3 separate regions of the Homo sapiens genome follow, and regions 1 and 3 are each linked to region 2. The links are contacts of gene promoters, found by promoter capture Hi-C in blood cells and fetal thymus (Javierre and others, 2016). All regions are on one chromosome and are shown on one strand. The core of a region is centred on a gene start or on the middle of the fragment in contact, and the rest is flanking DNA. Distances in the headings are between cores, read along the strand shown.

The links. Contacts are between HindIII fragments. The CHiCAGO score rates a contact against its expected background, and 5 or more counts as called.
Region 1: a fragment that was not itself captured here is called in contact with the fragment with the promoter of H4C16 in region 2 in 3 of 17 cell types (non-activated CD4 T cells, M2 macrophages and naive CD4 T cells); the score reaches 9.0 in non-activated CD4 T cells.
Region 3: a fragment that was not itself captured here is called in contact with the fragment with the promoter of H4C16 in region 2 in 8 of 17 cell types (non-activated CD4 T cells, M1 macrophages, total CD4 T cells and 5 more); the score reaches 9.7 in non-activated CD4 T cells.

The regions. Positions count from the first base shown.
Region 1 is chr12:15,548,865-15,553,725 of GRCh38, reverse strand. PTPRO (protein tyrosine phosphatase receptor type O) reads right to left here. Exons shown (of 27, transcript NM_030667.3): 14 at 4,500-4,632; 15 at 2,055-2,175. All of the region lies in intron 1 of LOC105369672 (a long non-coding RNA gene), which reads left to right. Among named protein-coding and RNA genes, the nearest start is that of PTPRO, 230 kb to the right of the region's middle. The HindIII fragment of the contact is 1,504 bases long and covers 1,041-2,544 here.
Region 2 is chr12:14,768,264-14,772,671 of GRCh38, reverse strand. H4C16 (H4 histone 16) reads left to right here and starts at 1,541. Exons shown (of 1, transcript NM_175054.2): 1 at 1,541-1,952. The coding sequence starts at 1,588. The coding sequence ends at 1,899. LOC105369669 reads left to right here and starts at 2,015. Exons shown (of 3, transcript XM_047429947.1): 1 at 2,015-2,772; 2 at 3,663-3,733. The coding sequence starts at 2,519. RefSeq lists enhancers at 1,729-2,058, 1,723-2,319, 2,320-2,915. The HindIII fragment of the contact is 13,886 bases long and covers 1,163-4,408 here.
Region 3 is chr12:15,531,816-15,536,152 of GRCh38, reverse strand. All of the region lies in intron 12 of PTPRO (protein tyrosine phosphatase receptor type O), which reads right to left. Among named protein-coding and RNA genes, the nearest start is that of PTPRO, 210 kb to the right of the region's middle. RefSeq lists enhancers at 1-1,190, 1,606-1,695. The HindIII fragment of the contact is 1,716 bases long and covers 1,569-3,284 here.

The sequences.
Region 1 (4,861 bases), core at 543-3,042, 780 kb before region 2:
ACATAAAAGTCAAAATGAAAGTGTTAAATCTAAGTCAGATGCTGTTAATCTTCTGCTCCAGAGCCTGCAATGCCTGCTCATTTTACTGAGTAAAAGCCAAAGTCCTTCCAAAGGCATACGAAGCCCTGCATAACTTGACATCTCCTTCTACTCTTGTCTTCCTCCGCTTTAGTCACAACGGCCCCTCTGCTACACTTTGAACATCCCAGTCGTGCTCCTACCCCAGGGCCTTTACACCAGCTGTTCTTGCCACTGGGCACACTCTTCCCACAGATAACACAGGCTACCTCCCTCATGTGCTTCAAGTCTCTGCTCCAATGCCATTATTTCAGTGAAGCCTACCCACCTCCTAGGACCCCTAACACCACACTGGTACTGCTTATCTCCCTTACCTGACCTTGTTTCCTTTCCTTATCACCTGCTAACTTAAGGGGCAGTCCTTTTACTTATATCTTTATTGTTTATTGTCTATTTCTCCCACTAGAATATGAGCTCCATGAAGGCACATATTTTTGTCTGTTTCATATACTGTCATATATGTAGCAATATTTGTAATATGAACGCATGAAGTTTCAGTGACCTACACAAATTCACGCAAGTTGGAAGTCAAGATTCGATCTCAAGGAGGCCGAGCATGGTGACTCACGCCTATAGTCCCAGCACTTTGGGAGGCTGAGGTGGGCAGATTACTTAAGGTCAGGAGTTCGAGACAAGCCTGGCCAACATGGTGAAACCCTGTGTCTACTAAAAATACAAAAATTAACTAGGCCTAGTGGTGCGTGCCTGTAATCCCAGCTATTCAGGAGACTGAGGCAGAAGAATCGCTTGAACCTGAGAAGCAGAGCTTGCAGTGAACCAAGATGGCACCATTGCACTCCAGCCTGGGCGACAGAGTGAGACTCTGTCTCAAAAAAAAAAAAAAAAAAAAAAGATTTGACCTCAAGGAGTGTAATTTCAGAGCTCTCCACTGTAGTTACAGTGCAATCCCACATCTCTTCTTATCCTTTTAAGATTATTCAAATGCCAACCTTCAAGAAGCTTATTTTCACATTCAGAATTAGTCTTTATTCTCTAGTTTCATGGCATCCTGTTTTTAATCCCCTTTATGCTACATGTCAGCTTATGCCTTTAAATATATCTATCTATTCATATATCCAGTTAGGTAAGTAAGCTCCTAGTGGACAGCTTTGATGTCTGATTTTTCTTTGGATATGCCATGTCAGGCACTGATTAGATCACTATTGGATAGATGAATTTATTTATAAATATGTGAGTGATAGAACTCTGAGACAGGAGAAGAATGTTAATTTATAATTCAGCAGGTTAATATTGGGCAAATATAAATGTTAACAAAATTTCCCAAACCAAGTAGTATTCAAATAAGCAACAGTTTTTAAGGGAATTGATAGATTATTCTGATAATACAGGGGGCCACAGAAACTACTTGAGAATGTGCTCTGATGAGCAATGCATCAGTGGTCAAAGGAACAGGGAAGAGCTGAAATCATAAATCAAAGGCTTTTCTAATTGCAAGAAAAACTAAGCTGGCTGCAACTCTGAGTAATAGGAATAAAACTAATAGAGACTGCTAATGGACCTAATCATAAACTGTACAAATATTTTCCAATAGAACAGCTTAAAATTATGGAGAGGATTTCCCGCCCCCCACCCCGTTCTTTCTTGTCATCTCCATTTTTATTAACTTTTTTCATTAACTATACTGAACTGTCATAGATATTTCTTTTATTCCAAATGTGTATGAAAGTACCCAAATGTAATGGATCTCCATATATGGGCTACTTCAAATGCCAAGATTGATAGCAAGAGGTCTGACTTTGTGTAAACAAGCAATCCTTTGCTTTCTCATTTCAATGGTAATATTTTCCAATATAATGTTTCGAAGTCTATTTAGAAAACACACACAATAGAAACAGACACTGAAAACTAAAATCCAATATACCGCTATACAACTTAGGTGTGCAAAAACAATATATATATGGCAGATAAAGATATTTTAAAGATTCCGGATAAAATATTAGTAAAACTTAACTTACCTAGCCATCTGCAGATGCTTTTTCCTAAGAATAATGAGGGTAACAAGCAACAGTCCAATTAAAAGTGTGCTAAGGATGGCCAGCACGGAGATCACTACCACATTGGGATTCATCTCTGTAACTAAAGAGATAAGTTGTGCATTTTCATCATAGGTTCTCTTACAGGGAACCAAACAGAACCATTCATTGCTTTTCATCTAGTCTTAAGGGCAGTGAGCTTACGATGATACCAATAATAGTAACAATCATGTTCCCCAAGCCAGCAATGACCTCTTCCTGGTCAACTGTAACTTAGCAAACTAGACTGATAAGTGGTATTGAGGTGTCTGGAAGAATTGAGTCCCTTTCAAAGGCCTACAACATTCAGGATATTCTTACATAGGGAAACTAAAGAATGAAGAATACCTGTGCCACAGTTTAAATTCATTTGAAAGCTAAAAATGTGGAAGTCATTACCATGCATTATCGTTTTTTAACATTTTCACAAGCTTAGAGGGTGGCAACCTCTTATTTTACGCCCATGATTTTGAAGTCAGAAAGCACAACTGTATACTTTGCTTACAACTAATAATGTATATCAAAAAGACATTAGCAAACTACCATCTGCTGAAGCACTTAACACATTACTAGAAGCAGACATTCTGATGATCCGTGGCCATATGTTTAGGGGTTTTCCATCTGCACAGCTCAAGAGATAAAACCTATTAATAGGTTGTAGGGCCCTGAAGAACAGGGGTCACGTCCTTTTCATGTACTCTATATAAAGACTTGTCTCCTGTGGCACTTACACATTGTCTACTTCTTCATACTACACGGAAGAACAGGATATCAAAGGCAGGAACATAGGTTTAATATTCTTATAAAACTCTTTAAAATGGGCCTGAGGACTCATACCATCTTTTGCATTGATCATAAAGTCACAGAATGAGCAGGTGCATCTGATCCCTAAGGTTCTGGGTATTTACCACTTCCCATTTGGGCCAGCTTGGCTCCAGTTTATGAGTAGAGTGCTTAAACAGAAAGAACAATGGACGCATGATCAGAAGAGCTTTTTCGCTTGAGTACTGCTATTTGGAGAGAAGCCATTTCATCTGCCCTATGGGCCTCATTTTCCTCATTTATAAATAAGTTTAATAATATCACCTGTTATGCTACATTGTCATGGAGCTGACAAGGAATGATGGACATTAAGGTACAGTTGACCCTTGAACAAAATGAGTTTGAACTGTGCAGGTTCACATATATATGGATTATCTTTACTCTCTGCCACCCTTGAGACAGCAAGACCAAACCCTCCTCTTCCTCCTCCTCCTCAGCCTACTCAATGTGAAGACCATGAGGAAGATCTTTATGAAGATCTGCTTCCACTTAATGAATAGTACATATATTTTCTCTTCCTTACGATTTTCTCAATAACATTTTCTTTTCTCTAGCTTACTTTATTGTAAGAATACAATATATAATAAGTATAACATACAAAAATGTGTTGATCAACTGTCTATATCATTGGTAAGACTTCAGGTCAACAGTAGCCTATGAGTAGTTAAGTTTTGAGGGAGTCAAAAATTATACATGGATTTTCAACTATGCAGAGGTTGGCACTTCTAAGTCTCTCATTATTCATCGTCAACTGTATATTTTAGAAAGTGTACAAGGATGTAGGAATGAGAGACCATTAAAATACTTTGCAGGTATATTTTTTGTCCTCTCTTCTGAAAAAACAAAAATTAAAAACAGAAAACCAAAAAGAAAAAGAAAAAAGAAAACAGTCCGCTCCAGTCATCCCTGAATTTAGCAGCTAAATATATGACTAATATTACAGAAATGGAACTAAACCAGTGAAGTTATGAGTGACTTTATTACAAGAGGCTTCATAGAGGGTCTCAGGTTGCAGAATCAGACTCTAACAAACCAGGAGTAACACATGTAATACAACTAAGAAAAGAATAAGGAAATAAACAGCATCATTCCAGACCTTTCATTAACCTCTAATTTTCCCACTTATACTTTTGGCTGGATTGGAAACTTTCTTGCTTTGACCCAGTTATCAATTATGTCATTCTCTGATCGGTGACAGATGAAGACCAAGGCTAAATAGATGAAATTGGATTGATAAGAGTACTGTGCCTATTACTGAAGAAGATGAGATGAGTTAGCAACTAGCATTTAGACAGCATATACTAAGGATTTAAGTATTTTATTTCTAAGCTTCAAAACAACTCAGAAAGTTACATATTATTATTCCAATTTTACAGATGAAAGAAAAGCTCAGAGGCACCAAATGTCTTTCTCTAACTCCATAGCTAGTAAGTGCACTTTGGGATTGAAATTAAGGACTCTCTGACTCCGAAGCTTGGGATTTCTTGGTGGAATATTGATACAAATACATATATATATATATATTCAAAAAAAGTGAGAAAATTATACACTAATGTGTATAATTACCCATTGTTGAGACGGCTATGAACGTAGGGACACTGGGGCTGTCATGGCTAAAGCTGGTGACACTACAATTGTAGGCAGTGGCAGGAAGAAGGCTGGAGATGGTCACGACATGGGAAGAAACAGCAACTGGTTCCTGGGGTTTCAGAAAATAAGGTAAATTTTAGGTTAACTTCATCTATATTTTTTAAAAATATATTTCATAGTTGAGTTGGTAATAGATTGACAGAGTAAAAAATGTATAAGATGACAAAGAATAGCATTGAAAAATGTTTCCTTTTTTCCCCATTCCCCATCTGACCAATTCCCTTCCATGGAAGCAGCATTATTCCATGTTGTCAGGCATTATTTTTCTTCCCATATGC
Region 2 (4,408 bases), core at 292-2,791:
TCCGTCTCCCGGGTTCACGCCATTCTCCTGCCTCAGCCTCCCGAGTAGCTGGGACTACAGGCGCCCGCCACCACGCCCGGCTAATTTTTATGTATTTTTAGTAGAGATGGGGTTTCACCATGTTAGTCAGGATGGTCTCGATCTCCTGACCTCGTAATCCGCCCTCCTCGGCCTCCCAGAGCGCTGGGATTACAGGCGTGAGCCACCGCGCCCGGCCCCATTACAATAATTCTTATCTCTTCAAGATCTGATAGACTTTTCCTCTTCCCTCTGAGTCAAATATTAAAATCATGAGTGAAGTTCGACCATTCAGGACTTTTTCCAGCCATTCAAGACAGTGTTCCAACTCTTTTATCTTTAACAAAAAGTAAAAGAAAAATAAATACCTTTTGGGTTATGAAGATGGGCATGGATTGAAACAAATGTAAACTATAGGCATTTATAAATATAACAAAATTTTACCATAAAGTCTTCCTGCTGTAAAGGCTTATCTTCAAGACCAGGGACAAAGAAGCCCCACTTACTAAAATTCATTGCTCAGAATCCTAATTAACTACCTGGGAAAGACTTATGACTCATCCTCTAAATAACAGCTGCTTTTTAACACAGTAAAACCTTTAGAGAAGACAGGGTCCTGACACCTTTGAAGAGCGGTGACACCTTACAGAAACTTTCGTTTTTGTTCAGGGATTCTCTTGAGAAAGGAAGGGATTCAGAACCTCCTGAGGGGATTTGCAGTAGAAATCATTATTCCAAGTCATGATTGTGGCATCCATTGTTTTACAAGAACTTTGAATTTTTAAGTGGAAAATGTGAGATGAGAACCTGAGATTTGAATGACATAAGACATTGACAATATTTCAACTAAATAACCACAGGAAGTTACTTGGTTGAAAAGCACACAGGCTCTTGCAGGGCAGGAAAACCTGCAAATTGCGCAGAAGCAGCTGAAAGGGGAATGGCGGGGGTCGGGGGGAGGTGGGGGTGGAGTGTAGGTGGGGGACGGGAAGCTGCACTTTCTTTTTTCAATTGAAAGAATTTTAATTATCTGCAGGGCCGTAAAAGAGAAAAAAGTCCTCTCCCCCTACTATGTCTTCAGAAGACCCACGTGTGAAAAATTTTAAATTTTAAGTAATTGCTTTGAAATCTCGGATGTAAAGCTTTTCAGGTTTTTATAGAGTTTCATAGTAAGTCAGGAATTCCGTTTGAAAAAACAGAAGGAGGGAGGGACAGAACAAGGAACGTGCATAGGATCTGGCCTACTTTTATTTAAGCGCTGAGAAAAGGCAATATAAATTCTTTTAGCTCATACTGTTTTAACTTTAAAACGTATCACCATGAACCTTTCTCCAAACATCAGAAAAAATTTTCCCAAAAGAGCAAACAACAAAAAAATCAGGCTGGTTTCGCTGACTGCTTCCTGGACTTAACAACTATAGCATGTCTCCAGAGGTGGGGCCTAGAGCTCCGCCCACTTTTTTGATGTTTTCAAACAGGTCCGCATCGAGAGACTATAAGCCCTGGTCTGCGACTGGCAATCACAGTGGGCAGCCCGATTTTCTGCTGAGTAGGCGCTGTGATTTCAGAATGTCTGGGCGAGGTAAAGGTGGCAAGGGGCTGGGTAAGGGAGGCGCCAAGCGCCACCGGAAGGTGCTGCGGGACAATATCCAAGGCATTACAAAGCCGGCGATTCGCCGTCTCGCCCGACGTGGGGGCGTCAAGCGCATTTCTGGTCTCATCTACGAGGAGACCCGGGGAGTCCTCAAAGTCTTCCTGGAGAACGTGATCCGTGACGCGGTGACTTACACGGAGCACGCCAAGCGCAAGACCGTCACGGCCATGGATGTGGTGTACGCGCTGAAACGCCAGGGTCGCACCCTTTATGGTTTCGGCGGTTGAGCTGTCCCCACAGCTTCTCTACAGACTCCAAAAGGCCCTTTTCAGGGCCCCCAAACTGTCACAGAAAGAGCTGTTAACACTTCCTAGATAACGGGTAAATATCAACCCTTTGATGTCGCCTTCCGGATACCGGAAATGGGATATTCGCGGCCCGAGCATCTGCTCGGGATTAGACTTGGCGGGCACGGGGAGAACTAGACCTCAAGGAGGGGGTTCCGCCTGTGCTTAGGTACGACCCTGGAGGTGCCGCGCAACGCAGTAGTGACCTCCCAAAATCCAGACACCGGATTTTGTTTAGAAGAGTGCTTGTACAAAGCCCTAGTGTTAGAACTGGTCATGGTCTTCTAAGCGGCCGAGTCGTTGGCCCATAAGCACGTATCGGATGGCTTCCATGTAAATCAGGGCTTAGGTGACTTCCTGCTGGCCTTCAGGGGTGAGCGTCACGCGTCAAGGGCGGTTCGTGCGTGTGCAGGGCTTGCTAAGTCGCAGGAAATGGGAGGTCGCAGCACGCCGCTACCTGCAAGCCCGAAAGCTGAATGCAGCTCTAGTGTGGCGCGTAGTCTTACTGGGTACTATTTTACTTAATCGCTGACGTTGAGTGAGAGGTGACCAAGCTCAGATGCTGAGATTAAGGCGGCCGGGCGAAACTCGCGACACCCTGCGATTCCCTCTTAGCCAGCTGCGTAAAGTTGCCTACGCCAAGCGGGTAGCGTCCTGCTCGGCCACCTGGCGGCGGGCGTGGAGTTGGCAGGCAGGCAGTGGGGGTCACGCCGGCATGAAAGGCCAGATCACCTGCAGGTCGCCAAGTTGCCGGGAATCCCCCGCTCCGAGCAGTGTCATGCCCATCACAAATAACCCTATCGCAGCCGGGAGGTAAGCCCTGGCTTCCGAGTAAAGGCCCTGTTCAGAGCAGCCTGGGGGTCTAGAAGGGAAACGGGTGGCGGGTTAGGTTCTAATAAGTTCAGTGAGAATGTAAGAGAGACAGCTGTGGGATTACCAAGCGCGTGGTCCTACCCGGTACTCCCGGGGTGTAGTGAGGGTCTTGGAGAAAGGTGGGGCTGGTGCTACCAGTTAAGCGCACTTTCCAGTAGGCGAGGGTAGGGGGCGGAAGACCTGGTGATCAGCCTGCGTCCAGGCCGTAGGGGTCGCCCCGGCCTCCGGTAAAGCTCCGTATAACAGCCTCGCTCTACTCCTGGCTCTGTCCTTCCTAACTTCTCATTAGGCTTGGCACCCCAGGATGCGGTGTGATCCATGCCGCGTTAACTAATCTGCCCCTTCTCTACCTTTTCTTTTTTCCTTTCTTTTCGAGACCAAGTCTAGCTCTGCCACCGAGGCTGGAGTGCAGTGGCACGATCTCGCCTCCGCCTCCCGGGTTCAAGCGATTCACCTGCCTCAGCTTCCGGAGTAGCTGGGATTACAGGCCTGCGCCACCACGCCTGGCTAATTTTTGTATTTTTTTTTTTTTTGGTAGATACGGGGTTTCACCATGTTGGCCAGGCTGGTCTTGAACTCCTGGCCTCAAGTGATTCACCCGCCTCCGCCTCCCAAAGTGCTGGCATTTCAGGCGTGAGCCACCACGCTTGGTCTTGCTCTAGCTATTCTAAACATGAAGAAGTCATATAGCTTCCTTGGTGCGGTGGGCTGAAGTCACTCTAAGGGAGTTTCCCAGCCCCAGGGGTTAAAGAACTGGAGTCAAGATTGGAACCCAGCTGGCGAAGGATTCCGCACCGCTAGATCTTGACATTTGCCTCTTCTTCTGCCAGGAAGGCTCCCCTGTTCCTTTTTGCTGACGTGTCATTTCTAAGTACTTTCTCCTACTCCATAAAGACTTCAAGTGAGTACACAATACTGGTGTTAGTTTAATTTCTAAGACAGTGAGACACTCGGAGAAGTTCAATTTTCTTTAATGCAAGTGAAAAATTGAGTTACTTAAAAGAAATAGAGTCTGGCATACTTTCGTGCCCTCGATATTTGTTGCATGACCAAATGAGTGATTTTGGGTTTCACATAAATTAAGGATGAAAGTTAGGGCCCCGATGGAGGATAGAAATACTGTAGATATTTGTATGACAATTAAAACTCTTCCTTAAGTATTTAACTTATATGGAATTGTTTAAATATTTCATGGTTTTGGGGTTTTTTTTTATTTTTGTAGTGGTCTCAATTCTTTGATTAGAATAGAACTTATATTTTCCCTTGTAGCATAGTTATTTTTTTGTTTGTGTTTTGTTCTTTATAAAATATAACCTAATTATCTAAACCCAAGAAATATTTATTTTTGTCTGTGACTCTGAGTCCTATGGTATAGTAAGTACCCAGTCCTGACAGTAATCATATCTTCCAAACCAAAACTGGGTCACACGGTTCAATAACTGAACAGAATATCTCAAACTGAAAACGATCAAGATTTTCTGAAGTTTACTATTAATAGTAAAATTGCTTACTAAAAATGTTAAAGAACTTGATTTAAAACTCTGTAATGCCTCACTTAAAATGTGAATGAGGGGGG
Region 3 (4,337 bases), core at 1,177-3,676, 760 kb before region 2:
AGTTTTGTTCATTTCTGTATGCTCAGAACCAAGAATAGTGTGTGGCATATAGTAAATGCTAAGTAAATATTCTCTGATTCACAGGATGAATAATTTTTTAAAAAAGTATAAGACCTTAAGCATTTTATTAGCTTCTTTCTAGCTGACTGGCAGCCTACAGATTTCTATGTATCTATAACCATATTTGAGAGAGACAGAGAGAAAAAGCCTACTATCCCCCAAATACTTAACATTTCAAAGTATTTTGATTTTTTTCTTGTCCATAGCCAAATTATGTTTTAAAGATTTCTAATCTCTATAAAGGTTTGTATGAGTAAGATTAAGAAAATCAAGCCAATGTCCCTAAGACCAAATTCCAAAGAGGAACGGAAAGTCACAAAAGTGGGTATGAGGCTCCTCCCTGTTCTGTTAAATTTTTTAATAGAAAAAATGAAGTTTGAAGGAAAAAGGCCACACCCCAGTCCAGGAATAGAAGCAGCAGATGGATAAAAAGTACGAAATGACTGTTTCTGGACCAAGACCTAGCAATGTATAAAGCGTGTCACATTTCTCTAAGCGCCAGCTTGTTCAAATGAGGACATAGCACTGAATTATCTCCAAAAGCTCTCCTAGCACTAAAGTTATATGATTCCTTATCTCGAACGTGCCCGAACATGTCTGTGGTCAGGATAAAGCATAAGTTTGATGATGGTGGTGTGCAATTCTGTTTTTGTTTTGTTTTGTTTTGTTTTCTCTGACCTCCTTAGCTGTTCCTTTCCACTCTCTCTTTCTGATGCTTCCTGCTAAGCTGAATTTCTAACTGCTGGGGTGGCTCCTCTAGAGTTGATCCAGGGCTTCTCTTTTCTTCCCTGTCTTTACTTACTACTTGGTGATTTCATCCAGACACTTCCAAATTTATATTTCCAGCCCAGAATTCTCCCCTGGCCTTCACATCTGCACCGGGATATCCAATAATCATTTTAAATTTGTTTACATCCAAAGAAGAATCCTTGATTCTTACTTCACCCTAAATGTCCTCCTCCTGTAGTTTTACTAGTCATCTCAATCTCAGTGAATTGCGCCACCATTTGTCCTAGTTGCTCAAGGGTGAAGCCTGGGAGTCATTAATTTCCCTTTCCCTCACTTCGTGTTTCTGCCGTATCAGAAAGTTCTGTGGACACAACCTCCAAAAGAGCTCCTGAATTCTGTCCACTTCTCTTCATCTCCATTACAACCACCGTAGTCAAAGTTACCATCACTCTCTTGCAACTTCTTTGAATTAGAATATAATTTTTAAAGCTGGCACAAATAGCCCCTTAATTAGTTCCCCTACTTTCATTGTTGATACAATAATCCCTTTCTCATTAAGCAACCAGAGGGATTGTTTTAAATGTAAATCGGACTGTTTATTTTAAGTTCTCTAAATGGCCCTTCATTACTCTGAAGATAATATTCCAACTGCATGCCTTAAAAGATCTATACTCAGGCCTGCCTGTTCCCTCTGTCTGGCATCCTCCTTCTTGGCCTTTTTGTGGCTGGTTCTTCTTGTTATTCAGACCATAGCCTCCATGGCTTCCTCAAAGAAAGCTTTGACCACACAGTCATTCTGCACCACATTTCCCTGTTGTAGAGCACTGTACAGCACTATTACCATCTTCCCCTTCACTAGATCATAAGCTCCTTGTGAACAGAAAGTGAAAGTAGCGCTCTGGGTTCATTACCATCACGACTACCACAAGTACTCTGGCATCTGAGTAGTACTTAGAAGGTTCTTAATATATATTAGTTAAATGGATTGATGAATGGATATTCTATTACCAGAGAGCTATTTGTGATGTGTCCAACACGTCTCATTCCTGTTTTTTCTTTCCTTTCTTTTTCTTTTTTTTAAGGTTGGGAAACTGATTATCTTATGTAGACTTAACATGTCCTCTTAAAGTTGGCCCAGGGATCCAGGTTGATTCACCAAGACTAGAAGATAGTAATGACTGACTGTCAAAGGGACCTGTCACCACATACCACCAAAGTTTCGTGAAACTGCTGGCAACCTAAAATTCCTAATGGGATGGTTGGTTCAACATCCTGGGAAAAGCACCATTATTGGTGCATTTCTTTTTATGGATGTTTATTGATGATACAATGTTGAGAATTATTGGCAACTGTTTGAGGGCTCTCTACCCTTGCACATGACACATTAGATTAATTTATATGATACTGGACTCATTGGTAGTTTGGTTTCTTTCTATAGAGGTAGAACCTACCCTCCATGACACAGGAGTCATTCAGAGGCATTCTAAAGAGGCCTCTATTATAGATAAATTGAACTGCAGGTTAGCCCAACCAGTTACGGCCCCAGCTTTAACAATGGCATTCTGATTCAAACATGCTCTGAAAAATCTGTGCCAAAGTTGTATTTTTCTTTAAAGGAGAATGACTATGACTTCTATATATATCAAAATGAATGCTGGGAAGAAACATAAAACAACTAGAATGAAAGTTCTGTAAAAAACACACACAAACACACACAAAACCTGCAATTCAGGTACTACTAAAGCAAGATATTATTTCACTTCTCTGAAAGGTTAAACTTGTTCCGATTAAATATTAACTGCAATACTATGTTCAACTTTGAGGTCCGCAATTTCAATTCATTCAACAGTATCTGTTAAGCAGTTATAGGTGTTCAGGCATTGTGTTATATAAAATGGAAAGGGCTTATATACACAATAACATGATTAGTAGAACAGATCTTTTGACTAAAGGATAAAAACCAACATTATATGTTTTCAAGAAAATAAGAAAGGCACATCATAAAAAGATTGTCTTGTCTACAGAGAGGAATAAGATAGAAACAATATTCCATTTGATATTTAAGATACCAATAAGAAAAAGGTTATTGATCCTAAGGGTTACATTAACTAGAAATAATTTCCATGAAAACTCAACTTTCCTTCTTGTAAAGTTTAAATAAATTTTCCAAGCTGGTTTACATAGTCCATTCTATTATCAGGGAGACATGGAGACTCCAAACATTTTGATAAGTTTGGGAAACTATCATGGTTTTAACTCACAGTCCTATGTAGATACAGTTGTACTAGTTCATGACTTTGACTCATATTCCTGAGGCACCTTCGACCATGATGTCACATAGAAATTTCAGTGAAGTATCCAATAGGCCCACTAAATGCTACTTTGATAAGACCACCTCTGAACTTAAATTTTAAGGGAGACTGAAAAACCAAATGAGTTGGAGAAAGCTGCTAGGACCTGAGAAACACTTAATAGCTTCCTGTATTAGTAAAGCTTGGAAAAAGGAAGACATTGGGAATATGAGCTCAATCTTCAAGTAATTACAGTTACCTGGAAATGAGTTTTTGAACGGCCCTTTACACCCACAGAGGTCAGAGTCAGAGATAATGGCTGGAATTGGTAGACAGGCAACTTTTTTCTTAATAGAAAGATTATGCAAAGTTGGAAGTTGGTGCTCTCCACATTCGTAGAATTTAAGTATAGACCACAAGGGAGGAAGAGCAGATTGCCTTCAGTGCAGGAAAGGTAAGAGACAACCCTTGATCCTCAATTGGGGCACTAGTGCCCCCTTGAGGGTGTTTGAAAGTTTGGAGGAATGTTTTTATTAGTCACAGCAGAGGGAATTAGCTGTTCTTTTGTGGTCAGGACTTAGAAATGCTAGCCGTCCTGGAATTATTAAGAGGACACCAAAAGACAAATTGTCCCATGTCCCACATCCCACATGACTTTCAAATGTCATACCAGAGAAAATCCACCATAAGTGTAAATTGCAAGTACTTTGCTACATAATATTGAAAGTTTTTAAAAAGAAATTAAGTAAAATAATTTAGAAGAAAGTTGTCATGAAAAGGCATATTTAAATCCAATTAAGATAGTATTTAAAATTATAAATTATTCAATATTATAATTTTTACTTCCATAGTGTCTAATCAACACATCACATATTTCCAAATTACCTATACAATTTTAAAGTATTTCAGCACAAAAACTTAGCTTTTGTCTTGGCAAATAGGAGACAAAGAAATTTAAGACTCAGTGACCTATGCATTGAGTTCTGGAGAAATGCAATTACTGGGTAAATTGAGGAAAGATCGTATTTTTTGTTTTTTAGATTTTCTAAAATTTTTCTAAAAGTACATCACTGCCAACAATACTACCCATGGTATTTAAGCTACTAATAAAACAACCACGAATTAGTCTTTACTTACAGCTGCTAATATGAACACATGTAATAACAGAGATGGCTTGAGACTGTTATGAACAAATTCAGACACAAAAATTAGCAGACATCTTAAAAAATGATGTCACTAAATTGCATTAACTATGTG